Linked DNA regions of Homo sapiens: region 1 is linked to region 2. The links are contacts of gene promoters, found by promoter capture Hi-C in blood cells and fetal thymus (Javierre and others, 2016). All regions are on one chromosome and are shown on one strand. The core of a region is centred on a gene start or on the middle of the fragment in contact, and the rest is flanking DNA. Distances in the headings are between cores, read along the strand shown.

Evidence for each region. Contacts are between HindIII fragments. The CHiCAGO score rates a contact against its expected background, and 5 or more counts as called.
Region 1: a contact is called between a fragment that was not itself captured here and the fragment with the promoter of ACSM1 in region 2, in 3 of 17 cell types (M1 macrophages, endothelial precursors and naive B cells). The highest score is 6.0, in M1 macrophages.

Annotation. Positions count from the first base shown.
Region 1 is chr16:20,389,546-20,394,191 of GRCh38, forward strand. All of the region lies in intron 2 of PDILT (protein disulfide isomerase like, testis expressed), which reads right to left. Among named protein-coding and RNA genes, the nearest start is that of PDILT, 13 kb to the right of the region's middle. The HindIII fragment of the contact is 1,753 bases long and covers 1,232-2,984 here.
Region 2 is chr16:20,695,160-20,700,010 of GRCh38, forward strand. ACSM1 (acyl-CoA synthetase medium chain family member 1) reads right to left here and starts at 2,521. Exons shown (of 14, transcript NM_001318890.3): 1 at 2,477-2,521. It also overlaps a transcript of ACSM3 not described here. The HindIII fragment of the contact is 2,330 bases long and covers 1,612-3,941 here.

The DNA of each region.
Region 1 (4,646 bases), core at 858-3,357, 310 kb before region 2:
CCATCACCAAACCATCCACCACAAGTTCTAGGCCTATTATGGAGCTCTCACATGGGTTTCAGGGTAAGCACACGGGACTCAGGGCCATGTTAGAATAGGCAATGGCTCCCTGACTGTCTGCTTGGTGTGTAGATGTGTTAATGGCTGATGGACCTAGAATTAACGTTTGCCTGGTCTTTAGTAGAAAACCCCAGGTTTCCTTCTCTGAGCAGTGAATGTGAGTCAGAGGAGGGGCTGATGGGTGATGGGGAGGTGATGAGTATAGGGACTGGAGTTTGATCCCAGCACAAGGAAGTTGAGTCTGCCTTTCTTTAGACCAGTGGTTCTCAATGTCGGACGTTTTGCAAGGTCTGGAGGCATTTTTGGTTGTCACAGTTGGAAAAAGAGATGCTACTGGCATTTAGTGGGTAGAGGCCAGGGATACTGCTAAACATTCTACAATGCTCAGGACAGCCCCCAGCCCCACAAGCAAAGAATTATCTAGTCAAATGTCCGTAGGGCTTAGGATAAGAAACCCTACTTTAGATCCAACTTCTGATCAAGCATGAAAAAAATATTCTGAGAATAACCCTCTGCCCATTCCATAGGGCCATGTACAGTATACAGAGGTACTCACAGCTGATAGGGACTTCAGGATTGTCATCAATCTCTTCTTGTTTCTCAGGGGCCAGCCACCAATTTGTTTTGACCATTGCAATGGCCTTTAAGTTTTTAAAAGATCTGTACCTCCCTATTTTTCTGGCCTCATTTCTTAGTCCTCTTCTCTTCAGAAACCCTATATCTTTAGCCAAATGGGCACAATCTCCCTCACCCCAGGGTATTTTTACTCTCTGTTCCTTCTGCCCTAAATCTGCATGGATCACTGCCTCACCACCTTAAGATCTTTGCTAAAGTGTTACCTTTCCAGGGAGGCTGTCCCTGGCCATCCTATTTAATACTACAGCCCCATCTCCATCCACCCCATGCATTCCCTATCACTCTTGTGTATTTTTCTCCATAGTACTTTTAACCGTAGGAAATACTATATATTTTACTTATTTTTCTTTTGTCTTCTCTCACTAGGATGTCAGTTCCAGGAGGGCAAGGATGATCACCTGTTTTGTTCACCACTATATCCTCAGTGCCTACAATATATCTGGGAAATAACCGTATTCAATAAATACTGAAGGAATGAAGTTTCCAATGATCAGCACAGTGCAAGAAGATGAATTTAGCACCAGTTTTGGTGTCAAGCTTGGTCTCAAATCCAGTCTTCACCACTTACCAGTTGTGTGACCTTGGGCAAATGATCTAACCTTTCTGACACCTACGTGCTTCATATACAAGATGGGGACAAGGTTTTCAAGTGCCGTGCCTGAAACACAGGTGCTTGATAAATGGCCTTTGTTATCATCACCATTGTTGTCATTATCATCACCATAACCATCATCACCAGCACCATCATCACCACTGTCATCACCATCACCATAACAATCATCGTCACCAGCACCATCATCACCATTGTCATTATCATCAGCATAGTTAATAATCATTATTACCAGTACCATCATTGCCATTGTCATCATCACCATCATAACAATTATCACCAGCACCATCATCGCCATTGTCATCATCATCACCATAGTTAATAATCATGATCACCAGTACCATCATCACCATTGTCATCATCATCATAATCGTCATCACCAGCACCATCATCGAAATTGTCATCATCACCATAGTTAATCATCATCATCATTAGCACCATCATCGCCATTGTCATCATCACCACTATAATTAATAATCATTACCATCACCATCATCACCATTGTCATCATCATCATCATCTTCATCATTATTCCATCCACATTACCGTCTCCACATCATGCTCACCATCATCATCTAACCTACTCCTAGGACAGAATCTTGTCACCTCTGCCTTAGGGACAAGTGATAAAGGACCCTAGACAGCTCCTAATCTTATCTTGACCTCTCTCCACTAATGGTAGTGAGTCCTTCTCTCCTTGATTCATTCAAGTTAATGTGGATGGAGAAAATTATGGGCCAAAGGAAATCTCATTCATTCATCTATTCATTCATTTAACATCTATGGAAGCCTACCATGCTCCAAGCACAATGCTGAATGTTAGGAATCAGGAGATGAATAAGATTTGGCCCCCAACATCATGCAATGTACACGATGAAAAGCAGTTTTGATACCATATAGCGAATGCTGAGAGAGAGAGGTTAAAAAGAAGGCAGTGGGAGCATAGGAAGGCCTCCCAGCCAGACTAAGTGGGAGTGAAGGTGGGTACAGCCTACCAATGAGGGGCATAAACTTCACAATCCAGGTGAAGGAGTGTAGGAAGGATACTATGGAAGCTGCAAGTGCAAAGGCCCAGAGGCTGTAGCTGTGGGCTAGATCAAGCAGAAGACCTTAGCTACTGAATGACCTGATCAGATTTGCATTTTAGAGGAAGTCTCTCTGGATGCATTGCAGGACAGCATTGGAGAAGGCAGGGAGACCATCTCAGAGGCTGCTGCAGTGGTTCAGGTGAGGAATAATGAGGCCTGAACCAAGGCAGTGGTGGTGGGATGGGGAGAACAGAGATTGCAAAGGGATTTAGAAAGTGGCATCCACAGGACGTGGTGATGGATTACATGTGAGAGTAGAAGAATCAAGAACAACCTTGAGGTTTCTGACTTTGATACTGAGTGGATGGTGGTACTTTCAGTGAAGGCAGGACATAAGGAGCAGCAGATTGTTGGGACCAAATCAAAGATGCTGAGGTCTGTCGTGGACATGTGGCAATGTCCACATGTGGACAATGTGGGACTGCAAAGAACATTGAGAGGAAAGCTCCCCCAACCACTGGCTCTTGGCCTGGAGTTCTCAGAGAGAAGAGAAAGCTGGTCACCCATTAAGGATCTGAGACTGGGGTGGTCCCTGGGGGCAGTGTCTGAAAATAATCTCTTTTGCAAAGAGCCCATTTACCCTTGAAGAAAGCTTTCATAGTGCTTTCCCCAAGTGATTTGTTTTTCCAAAGGCCACTTTAGAAGGCCGGCTAGTTTTTTTAAGAACTCATTTTGAATTTAATTATGTATTGGCAGGAATCAAAGATGCAAATGTAATGAGATTAATTGAGTGTCCCTTTTAGATAAGAAAATTTCTGCTGTTGTTGAGTTCACTGCTTTGAAATACCTGCTAGTGGAAAGGCTTTAGGTTTAAAGTATGCATGTTGGTTGTGTCAAATGCAATTCAAGAATGTGAAATTGATTGGTTCCCTCTGTAGCCTCAGATTTAGTGTCAGTTCTTAAGTCATAAGAATTAAAGAACCATGAACTCACCCTTCTGCCCTGGTTAAAACAGAGCAGAGCCTTCTATTCTCATGTGGACTGGACAGGTTTCCCAGCCTTATCCATCCACTGCACCATTTTTGGAAGGGGAATGTGTTGAGGTGTGTTATGTGTTTGTGTAAATGTATGGCTCTAAGCCTTTTAACACCTCCATTGAGGGTCTCAGATTAGAAATTAGGGCTGCAGCAAAAGAGATGGTTTGGATGTTTTATCTATGTAAACCATTAGTTTACCAATTCCACAGCAAGTGGAGTGAGACTGCAAGTTTCTCTGCTCCTCCCTGTAAAAGTCACCATGAAATAGATGCACAAGTGCTGGCCTGAATTCTAGTGTGGATGAGGGATGTGCAGAACTAGCTGGAGGAGTCTTTCAGCAAAGTGGAAATGCCTGCCGTGCTCACAGGCTCATGTAAAGAAAATGGCCTAGGCTGGATTTCTCTTACAAGGTATTGCTCGAAGGGCTTTGAAGTAAAATCAAGCTGGCATCCTGAAGAACAGCCTGAGTTAGAGGGAGGTCACAAGCTTGGAACTACATTGATGAAACTTCAAGCAACACGCATGTTCAATATTGGATGGAGGCAAAAATGACCCAATTGGACATTCCTTGTGGGAACTATAAATGTTAACGGTAGAAAAAGAAGGTGATTCATGCTTCTATGAAGTGGCAGCATAACCTAGCAGGGGAGGCACCAGGACTCAGGGGGGCTGAGTTGTTGATGCTCCCATATCCCCAAATTTCCTCATTTAAGTGGCACCACTCACAGAGTATACCTCAAATGAGAAGGACAAGGATTGAGGAAGGAGCTTTGGAAGACCGAATTTCTGGCAGGGGACATAGACTCAAATGTCATGGGGGTAAAGCAGAGAGTGTGACAGTGTGAGGTTGGCTGGATAGGAATATGGCAAATTGATAAGCATGTTCTCTGACCACAAGGAAAAATCACAACTCAGCTTCAGCCAATTGTCACCTTGCAGGACTGTGGGCCAGAGCTTCCAGGTCTTCTGATTTTTTGAAGAGCTGATGCACATTCAGTTTTAACTGTGACATGTTTCATTTCTTTTAAACACTGCATGGGCCAGCTGCCAGCTCATGGGCTCAGTTCCTGGGCTTCCTGTTATATCCTTAGTTTCAATGTTATGGGAAAGAGGAGGAGTCATAGAAAAGAACTGTGAAAAAGGAGCCAGAGAGATACACAGGAACCAGAAGAGACTGAGTTCACTGAAACCAGGCACTAGGGGGTCTTGGCATGAATATGCAAAGAAGGTCAAGGAAGGTGAGGGCTGTCCAGTGTCCACGGGATTTGAGAAACA
Region 2 (4,851 bases), core at 1,271-3,770:
GTGGAGAACTGTGGTAGCTGAAACAGCATGGCCCTAGAGATCAAACAACACGGGCTCAAATTCCAGCACTTTCATTTCCCACCCACATAACTTGGGGCAATTTATTTAACCTCCCTATAAAAACATAGGCATATTGGCAGCACCTATTGCCTGAAGCCATGGTGATAAATGCACGATATCCTGCAAAAAGCATTCAGCACGGACAAGTATTTTAGAAATAAGAGCTGTTGCTAGTTAACACACTTTATAGGGAAGCTCTTATAGAGTAGTTAAGCCAGAGGAAAAAAATTTCCTTAACTTTTGGAGTTAAGGTCTAAAGAGAAGGAATGGGGATGAATACCTGAACATAGACACCATAGGACTGGTATATGTCCAGCTTTTTCACTGATTATCTGTCTATCTATCTATCTATCTATTACCTATCTATTATCTATCTATCATCTATTTATCTATCTATTACCTATCTATTATGTATCTATCGTCTATCTATCTACCTATTACCTATTTTCTATCTATCTATCATCTATCTATCTATCTATCTATCTAGATATATAAGAACCTGATCTCCAAGTGTTGAGGACTGAAAATCAGATATCTATATGTCTATGTCTGCGTCTATCTCTATCTCTGTATGTATGTTAAGCTTCATTTCTAAATCTATTTCTGTATCTATATACCAATATTTACATTTATACCTATATCACTATCTGTGTATATCTATACATTAATATTAATGTCTATAACAATAACACATGTACACTGTAGTCATGTGCCACAATATGATGTCATTGTCAGTGATGGATCACATATACAGAGTGGCCCATACAATTATAATGACATATTTCTACTGTACCTTTTCTATGTTTCAATACACAAGTACTTACCATCGTGTCATGACTGCCTACAGTATTTAATACAGCAACAAGCTACATAGGTTTGTAGCCTAGAAGCAATGGGCTATAGCATATCGCCTATATGTGTAGAAGACTATGCTTTGTGGGTTTGTGTAAGTACACTCTATGAGTTCCCATAATAACAAAATCACCTAACAATGCATTTCTCAGACGTATCTTGGTTGTTAAGTGATGCATGTCTCTATCTCTATCACTATCTCTGTCTCTATCTCTATCTCCGTCTCTGTCTCTGTTTCGATATCTATTTCCATCCACATCTGTCTTCAGATTTGACTTCACAAAGCTTAGTTTGTCTATTTCTCACCGTGCTGGACATAGTAAGTGCTCAACAAAAAGTTAGATTCTTCCCTTCTTTGTCATAATTCAGAAAACTGAGTGATGAAAGTCAGAAAGAGAAAAGCCAGTGTGCCCACAAATTATCTGAGTTATAGAAAAATGTATTTTTTCTTTCTCAAGTATTTACTATAGATGTACCATGTACAGTTTTAGATACTATTGGAGATTAATTAAACTGAAAGAGTTCCTACCCTGTTAGAGCATATCATTAAAGCACATCCTATGAAATCATTTTAAAGAACAATTTTCTGAACTGCTTAAAGTGCATTCTGAAAGCAATTTGACATGGTAGCTTTGAGAGGCAGCTGGGCTCCCCACTGTATTCCCAGATACATAGTGCCTTGAACAGCTCCTGCAACTAAGCTTTGACTTCACAGGACTTGGGACTGATAAAGCTATTTAATGAAGCAACATACTTACTGTGTTATAGGGTATCCCAGAGTTACAGAGCCAGGGCTAGATGTTTGTCTCTGTTGTCTAGCAGCTGGGTCTTTGGTGCTGTTCATGTCTCTGAACTTAAGCGCACAGTAGTAATACCTTCTTCCCAGCTCCCCATAAGGATTAGTGTGATAATTTACTTGCTGGCACTGAATGAAGTGCACGGTAAGGACTCAATAAATGTTGAGGTACCTTTTAACTCCCAGCAAATTCTGAAGCCAACCCCCTCCCCATTAGATGTTAACCATTTTTTTTGAAACTGTCACCTGGACTGGAGTGCAGTGGTGTGATCATAGCTCACTGCAGCCTCAATCTCCTGGGCTACAGTCATCCTCCTGCCTCAGCCTTTCAAGTACCTGGGACCACAGGCATGTATTACTATGCTTGGATAATTTTTTTTAGAAGGCATTCACTTTATAGAAAGTGAGCCAACTTCTGCATAGATAGAAAAGATTTCCTTCAAACATTCATCTCTGACTTTGTGCCTGTCTCCCACGGCTCACCACATTCAGAGCTGCCTGACACTAAACCAGTCCCCATTTACATGCCAGCCACTGTGCTAAACATATTACATGTACGTTCCTATTTATTCCTCTCACCCAATATCACCATTGTCATTTTGCCTCTAAAATGAAGTGCCAAGAAGTTAAGTGACTTGCCCAAGGTCACTCAACTTAAAAGTAGCATTGCCAGAACTTAAAATTGGATTACACACACACACACACACACACACACACACACACACACACACACACACAGATAGAAGCTGACCTTCACCTCTGTCTTACCTGGTACTGTTTAGGACGTAGCTGAACTAGGTCCCTGGTAGGTATGGAAAAGGAGGTTGAGCTCTCTTTTGTAGGTTCAGTTCTCTCTGATCAGGTGATCCGCAGGATTGTGCACCCAGCAGAACTTGGCTTCTGGCCACAGCGAAGGGGGACCTTGAACAGAGAACTTGTTAGGAATTGGGTAATTCAGTAGGGGGAGGAGATGCTCAGGTAAAATAGGACAGAAACAATTACAGGCCTCCACGGAGAGATAATCACTTAGAAAACAAACCATGTGGGCCGGGCGCAGTGGCTCGCGCCTGTAATCCCAGCACATTGGGAGGCCGAGGCGGGCGGATCACGAGGTCAGGAGATGGAGACCATCCTGGCTAACACGGTGAAACCCCGTCTCTACTAAAAATACAAAAAATTAGCCGGGTGTGGTGGTGGGCGCCTGTAGTCCCAGCTACTCGGGAGGCTGAGGCAGGAGAATGGCGTGAACACGGGAGGCGGAGCTTGCAGTGAGCCGAGATCATGCCACTGCACTCCAGCCTGGGAGACAGAGACTCTGTCTCAAAAAAAAAAAAAAAAAGAAAAACAAACCACGTATACGAAGTCACCTCCAATTCCGGTGGCATGGCTAGGGGTGTGAATGAACTAGATCCAATGGTGCATTTTCACTAGTTCTCTGTGGCTAACCTGCTCCCCCTTCCCAGCCCTACATCACCATAGTCTCCCTTAAATGACAGCTGAGAGTCAGTGTAGCCTAATGGATAAGAGCCTGGGCTCTGGAGGTCTGGAGGCAGAAAGGTCTGAGTTTGAGCCTTAGGTCTGCCACTTAACCTCCATGTCATCTTTGTGGACCTTCTTGCTCTGGGCCTCACCTCCCTTAATTGGTTTTCGGTTGCTTTTGAGACAGAATCTCATGCTGTCACCCAGGCTGGAATGCAATGGCATGGTCTTGGCTCACTGCAACCTCCGCCTCCCAGGTTTAATTGAGTCTCTTGCCTCAGCCTCCCAAGTAGCTGGGATTATAGGTGCCCGCCACCACACCCAGTTAATTTTTGTATTTTTAATAGAGACAGGGTTTCATCATGTTGGCCAGGGTGGTCTTGAGCTCTTGACCTCAGGTGATCTGCCCGCCTCAGCCTCCTAAAGTGCTGGGATTACAGGCATGAGCCACAGCACCCAACACCTACCTTATTTGTAAAATAGGAATGATAACAACAATACCTACCTCCCAGGGTGTTTTCTTTGCTTCTTCATTTGTTTGTTAGAACTAGATGAAATAATTTATAAAAAGCATGTAGCACACGGTGCTGGGCATAGTCGATGTTGGCTCTTTTTATTCACTTGGGATTCTCAGAGGAACAATTTGGTATCCTGGTAAAATGCAGGGTCTTTGGAATCCCAAAGTCTTGAGCTTAATTAAGTCCAACCTCAGGCACTCACAAGAAAGCTCTTGGGTGAACCATTTTCCTTTCAAAGCTTGGTCTTGACATTTGTAAAATGAAGCAGGATTTGTTAATAAGATTTGTTGCATGGGATCATTGAAAGGATTATGTGACACCAAGCCTGTAAAGCACCTGGACCAGGCATTTAGATGGAGGGTTGATAGTGATATTGCATTGGATAAACCAAGGTAGTCATAGGTAGCGGCTTGTACTATGACTTTTCTACTGGAGCCATTTTTGGGGCATTGTTAGAGAATGAGGGATCTCCAGTATTTTCATTGAAGCTGGGAAGAAATTATTTCTGATCAAAGTCATGGCTAAAGATTTCTGGAGACACCCAGGACATTCCTGACAGGACCGTGTGGCAAGCTAGGATAGTTTGGGTTTTTAATATTTAGCTTTCTGTGGCCAGTCACTGGAGAGGTGAGAAGGCAGGGCTAGTTGACTGGCCATGGTAAGCTAAACCTTAAACACCCAAAGCATCAAAGTACCAAAAAACAAAGAAACGAACAAACAAAACAACTAACCAAAAAACCTCTGTTACTAAAGAGAAGGAGCAGCCACTTTTCGGAAAAGAATGGAGACGGGGGAAAAGCCCTTGACACACTCTCTGCATCTGAGTAGTTCTCCCCTGTGGAACTGCAACATGAAGGCATGGACAAGAAGACAGGCTCTGGCACCAGGCAGCCTGGGCTTGAGTCTAGCTTTTACCAGTTACCAGCTCTGTGACATTGAGCAGATTTCTTATCCCTCTTTTCCTCAATTTTCTCATCTTTAACAAGAGGTATACAGCGGACAAAGGAAAACTCTCCAAACATTCTATGTGTGCTCCTCTTTCATTTCCCAACCTCTCTTAAAGCTAAAGTGAGGCCATTAAACTCTAGTTCTGAACAATAAACTCCATGTGGAAGTGTTACAAGTCACTTCTGGCCTAGGGCATTT